Linked DNA regions of Homo sapiens: region 1 is linked to region 2. The links are contacts of gene promoters, found by promoter capture Hi-C in blood cells and fetal thymus (Javierre and others, 2016). All regions are on one chromosome and are shown on one strand. The core of a region is centred on a gene start or on the middle of the fragment in contact, and the rest is flanking DNA. Distances in the headings are between cores, read along the strand shown.

Region 1 (6,143 bases), core at 3,069-5,568, 240 kb before region 2:
GCAGTTCTGGCTGTTGTCCAAAGCATGGGATTCTGGAGGCAGCCAGAGCCCTGCTGAGTTCCTGCTTTCTGACCTGGAGGCTGAGCAGGCCGGAGTGGATGGATGCTGTCCAGACGTAGCCACCTGGCCTCTGTTTCTTATTTTAAAATTCTCTGCTACTGGGCTCAGTCCCAGGCCCTTCCTTGGGCTTCTGGGACTGAGCATGAGGCCATAGACAGATCTAAAAAGTTTCCACCACCCTACAGAAGTACACACAGATACCTGACTGGTGTGGGGTATGCCTGGTACTGTAATAGGAGCCTAAGACAGCACACCTACCTTTTCAGGATTTAGAACCTAAAATTAGAAAGAGAATCCCAGCTGTCATTGTTCCTTCCCCAGAAGCTAAGAGCCAGCCTCAGAGCCTACCCAGGAGCTGTGAAGGGGCAAGGGTCAAACTGACTCACTCTACCAGGAGGAGACCAGGTTGCAGTGGCGTAAGGCCCCCTGGTTTCTCTGGCCACACTCCAAGGCACCACAGTGCTGCCAGTGAGGACAGCTGACACCCAGCCAGGGAAACCATTCTAGTCTTTATTCTGTTGGCTTCCAGGGCCTGTCCTGGACTTGTCAGCATCCAGACTGCCATGTCAGCTATCCCAGTAGCTGAGCTCCAAGGACTCAGGCAGAGGGACTCAGGGATGGGGACTGCCAGGGGCAGTTGGCAAAAGTCCAAGTAGAGATTACACCCAGAACACCATTCCTTCCAGGAGCAGTAGGTGGGAGGTTTGACCCAGAGAAGCCAATCCTTGCATTCCAGGAGTGGCCTGTGCCTCCCACCTCTTCCTTCCCACTGCCAAAGGCCTGTGTTGAGAAAGATGTCATGCAAAAGGACGACGGTGGCCAACTAAAGCAAGTCTTCCTTCCACCCTGTGGCCTGCACTTGAGCCACAAAGTGTGTGTGTGTGTGTGCGTGTGTGGTACGTGTGTGTGTGTGTGGCTATGAGGCTGATTCCTGTTTGGATTTTTGTCCTCACGTGTATCATTAAGCTGGCCTTTGGGCCTTTTCCTTTCTACCTCCCCTGTGACCTTTCCTAGCCTCAGATCTGTTAATTCTTTTGGCCCCAGCCCTGTCCCTCACTGTCCTCTGTCCTTGGACCAGAACCCTGGGGTCAGACCCATCTCCTGTAGCTGTCCATCACACTGACAGGCTTCTTCCTGAGATATCCTCAGGTTTTCTCAGCCAGAGAGCTGCCTTTAGAGTCCAACTGTTGTACGTATGTCACCTTCACTAGAAATGTCCCATCATCGTGGGAGGGGAGCAGGGCACAGGGGATGGTGTGCATTCAGAGCATTGGGTTGGGGGCTTCCCTGTTCCCTCAGCCCCAGTCGAGAGGAAAGAGAATCGGGCCACTGCCAGAAAGAGAGTCAAGCAAACCTGGAAGGGCAAATCTGAGAGTGGGAAGGCCAAAGGCCGAGGCCCAGATTTAGTATTCACTAGCAGCGCCTTCGGGTAGCAGGATGATTCCTTTTCCTGCCTGTCTGCTGCTGGCTCTCTTCCCTAAGGTACAGGTTGGCAGGACCACCTCCGCCTACTTCTCCACCATCCCTAGCATGTCAGCCCGTTCCCAGATCAACCTGCCAGTGGAGTCAGGCAGTGCACTCCTGGAGCCAAGAGGGAAGGGCAGGGTAGAGAGGGTATGTCCAGTAGCCTGGAGCTCCATGGTGGCTTCATGCCTCCCTTCTCCCAGCTCAGGTGGCCCTGAGGGCTCCCTCGGAACAGTGCCTCAAATCCTGACCCAAGGGCCAGCATGGGGAAGAGATGGTTGCAGGCAAAATGCACTTTATAGAGATTTTCTATTGCTGGGAAGGTGTGTTTCTCCCACAATTTGTTTGTGAATATTCACTTGTTTTATAAATGTCTGACCTGTCTTGAGTAAGTTTGTGCTGTCGTCAATCTTGTGGGAGGCCTGGGAACCAGGGTTTTGGTAAGCCTGAGCCTGAATGAAGCTGTCGGCCACCCCATCTTGGTTCTGTGGGAGTCAGGAGCCTCCTATTCCTCCTTAGGAAGGGGGAGCAGCCAGAGCAGACTGGAGCAGCTTGGTCAAGAGTTGGTCCAGAGCTTGGTCAAGAGTTGGGGGTCAATTGGCCAAAATAGTACAGAGCACTCTGGCCCAGAGTGAGGGTCCTAAGTGCCATCCTGCAGTGCCACCCAGCCTTGCAGCCCACTTAAACCCCCTCCCAGGCTGGGGGTCAGTCAGTGCAGGGCCTGCTCCACGCCCTCAATCCATCCTTTAATTCAATGCAGCCACTTAAGCTGCAGCCTGTGGTGAGGAGGGGATGCAGGCTCTCTGGCTGTGACTAGGTGGTTGAGATCTGCCCACAGCCAAGCCTAGGGCGCCTGGATGCTGGCTTTGTCTCCTGGCCAGAGAATGGCCCCTCTCTGTGCAGTGTGCCCTGCTTCCATGCTAGGGGATGCTAGCCTTGGACTGAAAGCTTTATTAGCTCACACCCCAACTTTCTGGGAAGGGGCCCAGGCAAGGCCCAAGAATATCACAGTCTGGCCTGCACAGAGTGAAGAAGGAGAAAAGGGGAGGAACCTGCCTTGGGAACTTGTCTCATTCTTGGCTCTGCTCTGAAGCTCCTGCTGGCCTCCCTCATACCAAGACCTGGGCCTGCCTTTCCTTCTTGCCCTTCTGGCTTCTCTCTAATAATGGCTTTGGGTTGGTCTTTGGAGCTAAGATAACTTTGCTCTTGAGCAAAAGGTTCTGGAAGAGGGAGTTGTCCTTTACATCCACCCCTGACCTGCTAAGGATGTTCCCTAGCTGAGGCAGGTCTACATTCTAAGGAACGATTAGTAGCCATGATGGCAAGACTGCTTTCCTGAGAGGAAAAGCCAGGCACCATGGCAGCAGATGATTACCGTGAGGGCCCAGTGAAAGGGGCCTGATCACGAAAGCTGAGAAAGTAGTGGCCACCCCTCTGGGCCCCAGGGACAGGGAAAAGAGAAGCAGCCATGACCTTTGGCTCTAGGTATTGGGATATTCTCAGGGCTGGTGGTCGGAGGTTGCCTTCTGCACGGAAGGTGCCTCCAGCTCCTTGCTAGGTGCCGCACTGAAGGAAAGGGGCCAGCATGACTGGTCGGCAGTCCAGATTTGCAAATAGGACTCCACGAGTTGTGGCACAGTTTGCTCTGCACGTTTTCTGCCCTGTGGACAGGGTCTCTAGGGTTCTCTCGAGAGACCAGAGAAGCCAATGAGGTTTGACCAGAGGCTCTACGACCCAGCAAAGCTAAGGCCCTAGCCTTGGCAGTCCGTACTCTGAAATAACTCAATCGGGAAACTCAGGGACTTGAAGGCCTGGAAGCCCAGGAATAACACCCTCTCGAGGGAGAGACAATGAGGAAGAAGCCATGGCCAAAGCCTAGCAGGGATGGAGGTGCCAGAGGGAACAGAAACAACCAAAATGATCCCAAGAAGTCAACAGTGGGAGGAGAGGGAAAGGCGCCAAGTCTTAGAATGTGTGTCTGTGGGTGCAGAAGAGGGGTGCTCTGCAGGAAATGCAGTTGAGGCGCTAAGAAGGAGAATGCTGGGAAGGTCCTGGCGAGAGACCGAGAAGCCTGGAGGGCTCAATTCACCACGAGTAGCTGTTTGGGGCTGAAGAGAGATTTGGGTCAATCTTTAGAGAAGACAGCCTCTAGGGAGAGTCTTTGGGAGGGTCCCCTCAAGGTAAAGGGACAGGACTGGGGTGAGGGCTGGATCCCAGCGCAGGAGGTGGAGTGTTTCTGGGTCTCAGGCAACACATTTGTGTTACGTTACATTCTCACAACAACCATGAGAGGGACTGCTATTGTCCCATTTCACAGATAAGAAGACCAAACCTTAGTGCTCTGAAGTCACTAATGCAAGGCCCCACTGCCCAGTCACTTGTGGAGCCAGTGAATTCACACCACCTGACTCCAAACCTGTACACTTTAAGAGCCCACTGACATCCTCTCCTTTCTCTGCCTTCCTCCACGACCCTCCTTTTCCGCCTGCCTTCTTGGTCTCTGCTGCGGGGGGCCAACCTGGACCTTGGGGTCCAGTGTCCTGCCATTAGTCATCTGATACCCGGGCACTAAGCCCAACCGGAGGGACAAAGCCCACACCGGCCACGGGGTGGAGGAGAGTCGATGTCGGATTTAGGGCGGGGCTGAACCAAGCCCAGGGCCGCGGGGGCCGTGGCTTCAGCACCGCGGAGAGCGCCATCTCCGGGGGCGGGGCTGGCGGGGTGGGGGCGGGGCCTGGGCGGGGCGCGCGAGACCCCGGCCGGGTCCCGGGGGCGCGCGCGGGGCGCTCTCGCCAGTCCCGCGGGCCGTGCGCGGTGCTGTGCCGCGCCCTGCCAGACACAGGTGCGCCCGCCTAGCCCGAACTCCGCGGCGGCGGCTGCCCTCTCGCCGCGCCTCCGCCTCCTTCGCAGCCGCCGCCTCCTCCGCGCCGCGCTCCGCCCGGATGGCCAGGGCTGTGCCCGAGAATGGCGGAGCGAGAAAGCGGCGGCCTGGGAGGGGGGGCCGCGTCCCCGCCCGCCGCCTCCCCGTTCCTGGGGCTGCACATCGCTTCGCCTCCCAATTTCAGGTGAGAGTCCCCGGCCGCCGCGCGCCTCGCCCTTCAGCGGGGACTGATCCGCATTGGCTGCCCTGCCCGCCCCCCACCCCAGAACCTCGGGAACCCGGGAACGAAAGGGCTGCGTGGGAGTGGGGTCTCTTCCCGGGACAGAGCCCCCCTCAGAAGCCCCGCCAGCCTCAAGTCCGGACTGGTAGCCGTTGCATGTTCACGAGGCTGTTCCCTCCGCCATTCCTGGTCCTAGGCTGGGAGGTCTGCGCTGGAATTGGAGGAGGGGGCTCGGAGGCCTCCTTCTCCCCAACCTCCGGGCTGCGGCAGGGTCTGGGGTCGGGGTTGCGATCCCGGAGCGGGCAGGCAGGCTGCATCTTAGCCTGTGAATAGAGCTGGGAACAGCCTGGAGGGGCGCGGGTCGCAGTTTCCTGGGGCAACGACATTGTTGGTGCTGGGAGGAGGATGTTTGAGCCCCTCCCCGAGCCCTGCCTGGCCAGATGGGCCTACCTGCCAGGCCTGGCGTGGCCGGGCCCCTCTCTGGATTGGGCAGCACCGACCTAGGCAGGTGTGTCTCTCAGGGCAGGCGCTGAAGGCTCAGCCTCAACCAGGGGAATCCTAGGCCCGGCTGCGGGAAGGGAAGTCGGCTCGGCTCTGGAGTAGCCAGGGCCAGCGAGGGTGTCGAGGGGATCCCTGCTGGGGTAAATACCCAGAACCCTGACCTGAGCTCCTATTCCACCACCCCCACCCCCCAATCTGGTGTTAGGCCCGATGCATTTCAGAGAAGTGAGGGGTGAGTGTTGTGTGGAGGAGGAATAGATGTACCTCCCCCATAATTCTGAACCCTAGTTGGTGGGGAGGAAGAGGCCGAAGTCACTGCTCCCGGCCTAGAGAGGGAGGCTTAGACATACCCCATTGTTTCCCCATCTCGAGAACTGGCGCCTTCCCCTCTCCTGGGGCACCACCCCAGCCAGGCTCCAGCTGGGCTGTGGTGCCAGCCCCTCCTGGGAGCAAGGGGTCACTGGCTCCCAGGTCCTCAGGTGGGCAGAGACCCCTGGGGATCTCTAATAGCATCATCAAACTCAGAAACCTTCCCTGAGGCCCTGAGCTGAGCTGGAAGGACCAGAGGGGGCCAGATGGAGGAGGCCAGGCCTGAAGGCTCCAGGGCTGCAGCTCTCTGATAATGCCTTAGACTGAGGTCTGAGACTCCACCTGGCATGGTGCATGAGGCCTCCATGCAAATACTGCCTCCCCACCTGGAGGCCTCTGCAGTGGAAGCACATGGGGCTTAGAGGGACCTGGGTTCAAATCCTAGCTCCACTACTTTCTAACTGCATGACCCAGGCAGGTTTTTGTCCTCTCTGGGTGCCATCTGTTAAGTGGGCTAATTAATATTGATTCTTGCCTGGAAAGGAGAAAAAGCACATCAGGTCAGTGTTCAACAAGTGTCAGCCCCCACACTAGCAGACAACACTACGGCTCGCTGCTGTCCAGAGTGTCTTCCCAAGGCCCCTCCTTTAACCCTCATAACTGCCCCAAGAGAGGGTAGTGACCTGCCCATTTTATAGATGAGGTGAT
Region 2 (6,117 bases), core at 1,915-4,414:
AAATTGTCTAAAAACTAAGTTAAAAAGCATTCAATAGCACCCAAGCAAAACACTTTATTATGGGCAGCCAAGCAATGTCAGTCAAACTGTAAATACTATTATGTTACCAAAAGCAAAAGTCTGATGTTAAAAAAAAAAAAAAAAAAGCCCCTGGAATATTCGTAACATGTTAGCCAGATGTTTGTGTTTTGAGAACTTTGTGCACTATTACTATGCTCTTCACTTAAGGATAGTTGTACATCTACAAACGTTTTAAGTACAGAAATTTTTTTATAAACATTAGCATAACTGTACACAAAATTTCCTCTTTGCCATGAAAAGATAGGTCCTGGGATTTGAAAATGTATTTTTCAGACATTTTTAATGACCCCCTAAAATAAACTAGTTTTAAGCCCACAACACCGATTCCATAAACAAGTAAAGACAGAAGAAGAGAATAAGAAGGAACTTACCAAAATTAAAATGAATAATAGTATTTCCAGTAAAAATGTAGTAACAGTTTCCAACAATGCTGTAAACCAAATAAATTGTGAAACTTAAAAAAGGAAGGAGGGGGCCAGTCTTCAAAGACCAAAAGCAAAGCTGACCTATTTATTTCTATTGCTTAGAGTGAACACCAGATGTAAACAAATATCATAAACACTGAAAAGTACGCTTACATGGTTTAGCCTCAATTTCAGTACCCTTACCAGGCCCTCAATAAAGCTACAGATGTTGGTGAGAACTCGCTCAAAAAGGAGATAATTCCAGCCCCTCGCCTTAAAGAATCCCTATCAAGTGAACCTGTGAAAAGACTTCCTTCCCAGAGTGCACAACTGCTTTAAAAAAAAAAAACTTTCATCAGCCCAAATTAATCTGATTCTAATATTCAACTATCCATTATTTATATATAAATGTTCTTCCCTCTCTAACTTTCCCAGCTCGAGCATCTACATTCCTGACACCGACTATTAGCAAAAATGCACAACTCCTTCCCCAGCTATGGGGCAAATCTTTGAAATCTGAAACACAGCCACAAAGTTCACTGTCAAGGCCAGGTGATGAGGCCCACACATGCCCGGACCTTCACTCAGATTTGAAATTCTAGAAATCCAGACTCCCAGAGACATCATTTTAAAAACAACACAATGTGGACGTGCAGAGTGAGATCCTCTACTTCCAGACCTAAACAAAGAATATTTCAACATATGACCGGAATATGATGACACCAGATTCACCAATGAAAACAAAACCTGCCGACCATTAGCAGTCGTACCCTCATCACAACAACTCAACTACTTAGAAATCACTCTCGGCACATCTGCACCCGACAACCGGCCTGTGGCCTTCTCCGGGGGTGCAAGCCACAGACAAAGTTGAAAGAAGGCGTTCTCCTCCGGTGCCCAATCTCGATACCAACCCCTCCCCTACCAGGGCCACCTTGCTGCTACCCACCATCGCGAACGTGGTCAGGGGAAAAAAAAAAAAAAGAAATCCTAACAGCACCGCTCAGCAGAATAAAGAGACCAAAGAGAGGATGACGAGAAGTGTTGGGAACTGCGTGCACGACGGGGCTGGACCAAACGGAAAGAGTCCCACTCCGCGCGCCCCTCCCCCCGGCGGGGGCGCGGGCGGGGGAGGGGCGGCCGCGGCCCCTCTCGGAGCGGCCTGTCCGCCCCGGCCCGCTCGGGGTCCCGGGGGCGCCCCGCGGCCGCCGGCGGCGGGGGCGAATGCGGGAGGGCCGGCCCCGGGGTGAGGGGTGCAGGCAGACTCTCCGGAATAACAAGTTGCAGAAGAAGAAGAATAAGCGGAATTTCCCCAACGCTGCTCCGGCCACCCAAGACAAATGCACCAACACACTCACACTCACACACACACAAACACACACACTGGGGCCCGGCAGCGTCAGCAGCCGCAGCTTTTTTTTTTTTAAACCAGATCCCTCAGTCAACAAACAAGATGGTTTTCCAAAAAAAAATTTTTTTTAATTAAATAAATAATCATAATAAAAACTTCCCCCCGACAGCATCCCGGGGTGGGGTGGGGGGGATGGAGGAGCCCCAGCTACCTCCCCGGCCGAGGGACAGCCGAGGGGGGGCGGGCGAGGCTCCGTGCCCCCCGCCCCCGCCCGCAGCCCCCGGCCGGCCCCCCGCCGGGACAATGTGACGCCCCCTCCCCGCCGCCCCCGGCACGCCGCCTCTGTCACCGGCTCCGGCCCTGCACTCTGCGCCCAGGCTTCCGAGGCTGCTCATAAACTTACTTCCAATTTATCCTGGGGAGGGGTGGAGGGCAGAGGGGAGGGGGGGGAGCCAAGGTTTTCCCATTGTCTTTTTTTTCGGGGGGGAGGTATGGGAAGGGCACGCAGGGGGGCGCCCCGAAGGGGAAGTTATTGCTCAAATCTCAAGTTGACTGAGGGGTCCTGACGAGAACACCCCCCTTTCCCTCCTCCCTCCCACACACCCCTCCCCTCCCCCTACCTCCCCCCACAACAAACTCCAAGCAGGCAGCCCCTGATCCTCCCAGAGACAAACACCAGCGACAAGACAGAGGGAGAGAGGAGAGAGGCAGAGGGGGAAGGGGGAGGGAGGGGAAATAGAGCTACTCCAGAAAAAAAGAGAGAGAGGAGAGTGAGAAGAAGAGAGAATGGAAAAGCTGGGATACTGCACCCTCCTGCTGCTGGCTGGCTGTCCCCCCTGGCAGCTGGAGGCAGGAACTCTGAGCAGGAGAAGCAGGAGGAGGAGGAGGAGGGAACTCTTCTTCATGGGGAGGGAGGGAAGAAGCTGGAGCTGCTGCTGCTGCTTCTGCTGCTGCTCTGGGCCTCTCGCACTTTTTAGATATTAGTGTGTTAAGATGGTAGGTTGTTCCCTTCTCCCTCCTCCTCCTCCTCCTCTCCTCTCCTCTCTCTCTCACTCACTCTCTCTCTCTCTCTCTCTCTGGGCTGTTTCTTTCCTCCTCTTCCCCAGGCAAGGGGGGGTGGGGAGGAGGGGGTTGGGGGGAGGAACTGGATCCTCCTCCTCCTCCAGGAGGGACACACACAGGCCCCGGGCCGGAATCGGGAGGGGGGAATCAGAGCAGCAGGAGAGAAACTGTAGGAGACAAACAAGCCCAACTCTTCATCCTCCTCCTCCTCTCAGCAGCAGCAGCGAGCACCACCAGCCCATTCACCACCCGGCCCCGGGCCGCAGCACCTCCGCCGCCTCAGCCCGGGGATCCCTCCGCCCAGGCCCAGACACACTCGCCCGCGCGGGAGCCCGCCGCGCGGCCCCGCCGGCCCGCCGCCGCCGCCGCCGTGCGCGCCCCCGCCGCTCCCGAGAGCCGGGCGAGAGGGACTGGGGCTGGGAAAGCGGGGACGAGGGCGAGGGGAGAGGAGGCGCCGGGGGAGAGCGGGCCGCGGCGGGGAGGGAGGGGGCCGCCGGGCGGAGTGGTACGGCGGCCGGCCCGGGCCCCCGCGCCTCGGCCCGCGGCTCCCGGGACGCTCGGGTCCCCCCACCGGGGGCGGTGGGGCGTCGGCGGGGGGGGCGACGGGGGCCCGCGGCGGCGCTCGGGCGGGCGGACTACTTGACGTGTCGGTGCGGCGAATTTATTTCACTTTGCCTAAGGAACGGGGTGTGCTGCGGCACCCATTGCCTAGGGAAAAAACCCGGATGTAAAGTGAGTGAAACTAAACTAGAGTGAAGTAGGGCAGCGGCAGCCAAACTCCAGTGCAGCGGCGGCGGCGGCGGCGGTGATGGGGCCGAGCACCGAGCGGCGGCGAAGGCAGCCAAACTCCGGGGCCCGTGCAGCGCCGCAGCTCGGCTCCCGTGCAGCCGCAGCCGAGGCGAGGCCGGAGCCCGCGGCGGCCCCCCCAACTCCGCGGCCCGAGCCCAACTCCCCCCTCCCGCCGGCGGGAGCTGCAAAGGGGCTCCAGAGCGGCCCCAACTCCCTCCAGTGCAACAGCAGTTTGAAGGGGGGGGGGGAAAGCCGTGAGGGGCAGGAGCGAGGAGAAGTGATGGGGAAGCACTGCAATGGGGGAGCGTGGTCCAGGCAACAGGAGAAAGATGCAACCTCAAGTCGAATGCAACATGCAATCCCCGGCCGCCGCTCGCCCGCTCCCTCCCCTCGCCACCCCGCCCCCTTTCCAAATAACTACCCTTGAACCACTTTATTAGCAGTACTTAGTCCAGCACTCGCTCCCGGGAGGGGCGGGGGACGGGGGCCTTCGCTCACCTTTATTTATTGCTGCTTTCTCCCCCCTCTCCATGTTTTTTATTCCTAAGTTCTTTTGTTCTAAGGGGGATGATGGCATTTACTTTTCTGCTTTGTGTAGCAGGGCAATCACTGGGAATCGGCCACGTATAATCCGGCGGTTTGTCATATTTTATTAGTGAAAGTATTTTATGCCTATTCTACCTCCAAGGACTGTAACATGGAGAATTGCAGGGAGGAGAAAAACATCAGAAGAATTCTTGTTTTGAGAGATTTCTTGGCGGGGCGGGGGAGGGCCTTTTTTTTTTTTTTTGGAGGGGGTTTATTTAGATTTTCGAATCGATAGTTTTCAACTTGAAGCTTAACGTTTTTGTATGGATGTATTACCGGATTCTAAACCCCCAACCACAATAAATTTTTTAAAAGTAAAAAATCTTAGATTAAAAAAAACCCCTACTGGACAGTGATATTATCTGATCTGTGCAGCACTCTGGACTTAACATAGTGTTGGCCTTCGAATGTTAAATAACAATAAACCCCAACCTCAACTGAATACAAATGGGGGGGTGGGGGGTTTTGTTTTTAAAGCTCAGCACTTTTGTAGCAACTGCCACTACGCATTTTCCAGGCATTGATTAGCCATGCAACTCCCATAGGCATGAAATCCAGTTTTTGCAGATAAAGAGCAACAGTGGTGAGATGATTTGCCCAAAGTCAAAGTGAGTCATTCGCAGAACCAGAAATAGCCTTGGACTTTACTAGTCACATCTTTTCCATTAAATAATATTTCTATTACCTTGTTATGTATTTTCACAAGAGGTGCTTTGAGATCATTGGATATGAAGGTATTTTTTTACTTTCGTGACCTGCAAAATTAAGTTTAGTTTCTCAAGAAAAAGCAATTTTTAAAAATTCTGATTTCTTAAAAAATAAAATATGGACTTTATGGTACATGTGTAGGCCATTTAGTAGTCTGAGCTTTATGTTAAAAAAAATTCACAGCAGCGAAAGTGTAAGAGTTTGAGAGTGAAAATGAAAATTCCTATAAATGATTCAAGAAGCCTAGATGAACTCATAATGTTGTGAAACTAAACCCATAACGCAGTCAAGATGAATAACGGGAGGACAGGTTGGGTAGTAAGACCCAGCTTTACCATCTAGAGCTAACTGTAATGTATTTAAAATGAGGGAGGGGGTCTTTCAAGCTGGACCCACTGGCCAGTCACTGGAACTATAACCTAATGGTGTGATTTCAAATCATCCCAGGCTATCAACCTTTTTTCATAGGAAGACTGCTTTGGTGTTCTTTCTGGAAAAAGAAGGTAAAATTTTTTTTGGAATTTCATAGAAAAAAATCCAGAACCTCTAATTGTATCATGCTATAGAACTGGGGTTAGCAAACTTTTTCTGTAAAAGCCCAGATAGTAAATATCGTAGATTTTGCATCCCATACAGTCCCTGTCACAACTTCTCCACTCTATGCTGTTATAACCCAAAAGCATCTATACGACAACATGTAAATGAATGAATCTGGCTATGTTCTAATACAATTTGTATTTATAGGCCTTGACATTTGGATTTAATGTACTTTTCACATGTCTTGAAATATTCTTTTGATTTTTTTCAGTCATTAAGAAAAATTTTTTAAAAAGCACCACATTCCCAGTTTGGGGACTTCACAAAACCAGGCAGTGAGCTGGATGGGGCCCACGGGCTGTCATTTACCAATCCTTGCTATAAAAAAAGACTTAAGGTGGACTAACCACTGAACTTGTACCAAAGGGTGCTTGGTTATTAAGATGTGTGGTAGCAACCAAAAATCAATGTTATGCAAAGTCATTGTCTAGATATTTAATTAAAATATTTTTAGCTGAATATAAGAGTGTCTAACACTCCTGTAACTACCAAACTTAATGGAAAAAAAATACTCTGGAAGTATTGCTCCTTCAACTA

Evidence for each region. The method cuts DNA at HindIII sites, captures the fragments that hold promoters and counts their contacts. A CHiCAGO score of 5 or more calls a contact.
Region 1: the fragment with the promoter of MAPK8IP1 here is called in contact with the fragment with the promoter of PHF21A in region 2 in 1 of 17 cell types (naive B cells); the score reaches 7.8 in naive B cells.

What each region holds. Positions count from the first base shown.
Region 1 is chr11:45,881,333-45,887,475 of GRCh38, forward strand. MAPK8IP1 (mitogen-activated protein kinase 8 interacting protein 1) reads left to right here and starts at 4,319. Exons shown (of 12, transcript NM_005456.4): 1 at 4,319-4,589. The coding sequence starts at 4,489. CRY2 (cryptochrome circadian regulator 2) reads left to right here. Exons shown (of 12, transcript NM_021117.5): 12 at 1-1,912. RefSeq lists a silencer at 4,181-4,580. The HindIII fragment of the contact is 6,698 bases long and covers 2,471-6,143 here.
Region 2 is chr11:46,118,290-46,124,406 of GRCh38, forward strand. It overlaps PHF21A (PHD finger protein 21A), which reads right to left and starts at 3,165. Exons shown (of 19, transcript NM_001352027.3): 1 at 2,646-3,165. It overlaps LOC105376661 (a long non-coding RNA gene), which reads left to right and starts at 3,856. Exons shown (of 3, transcript XR_931252.4): 1 at 3,856-6,117. RefSeq lists silencers at 1,224-1,381, 1,565-1,624, 1,695-1,774, 3,188-3,247, 3,688-3,997. The HindIII fragment of the contact is 5,748 bases long and covers 1-4,522 here.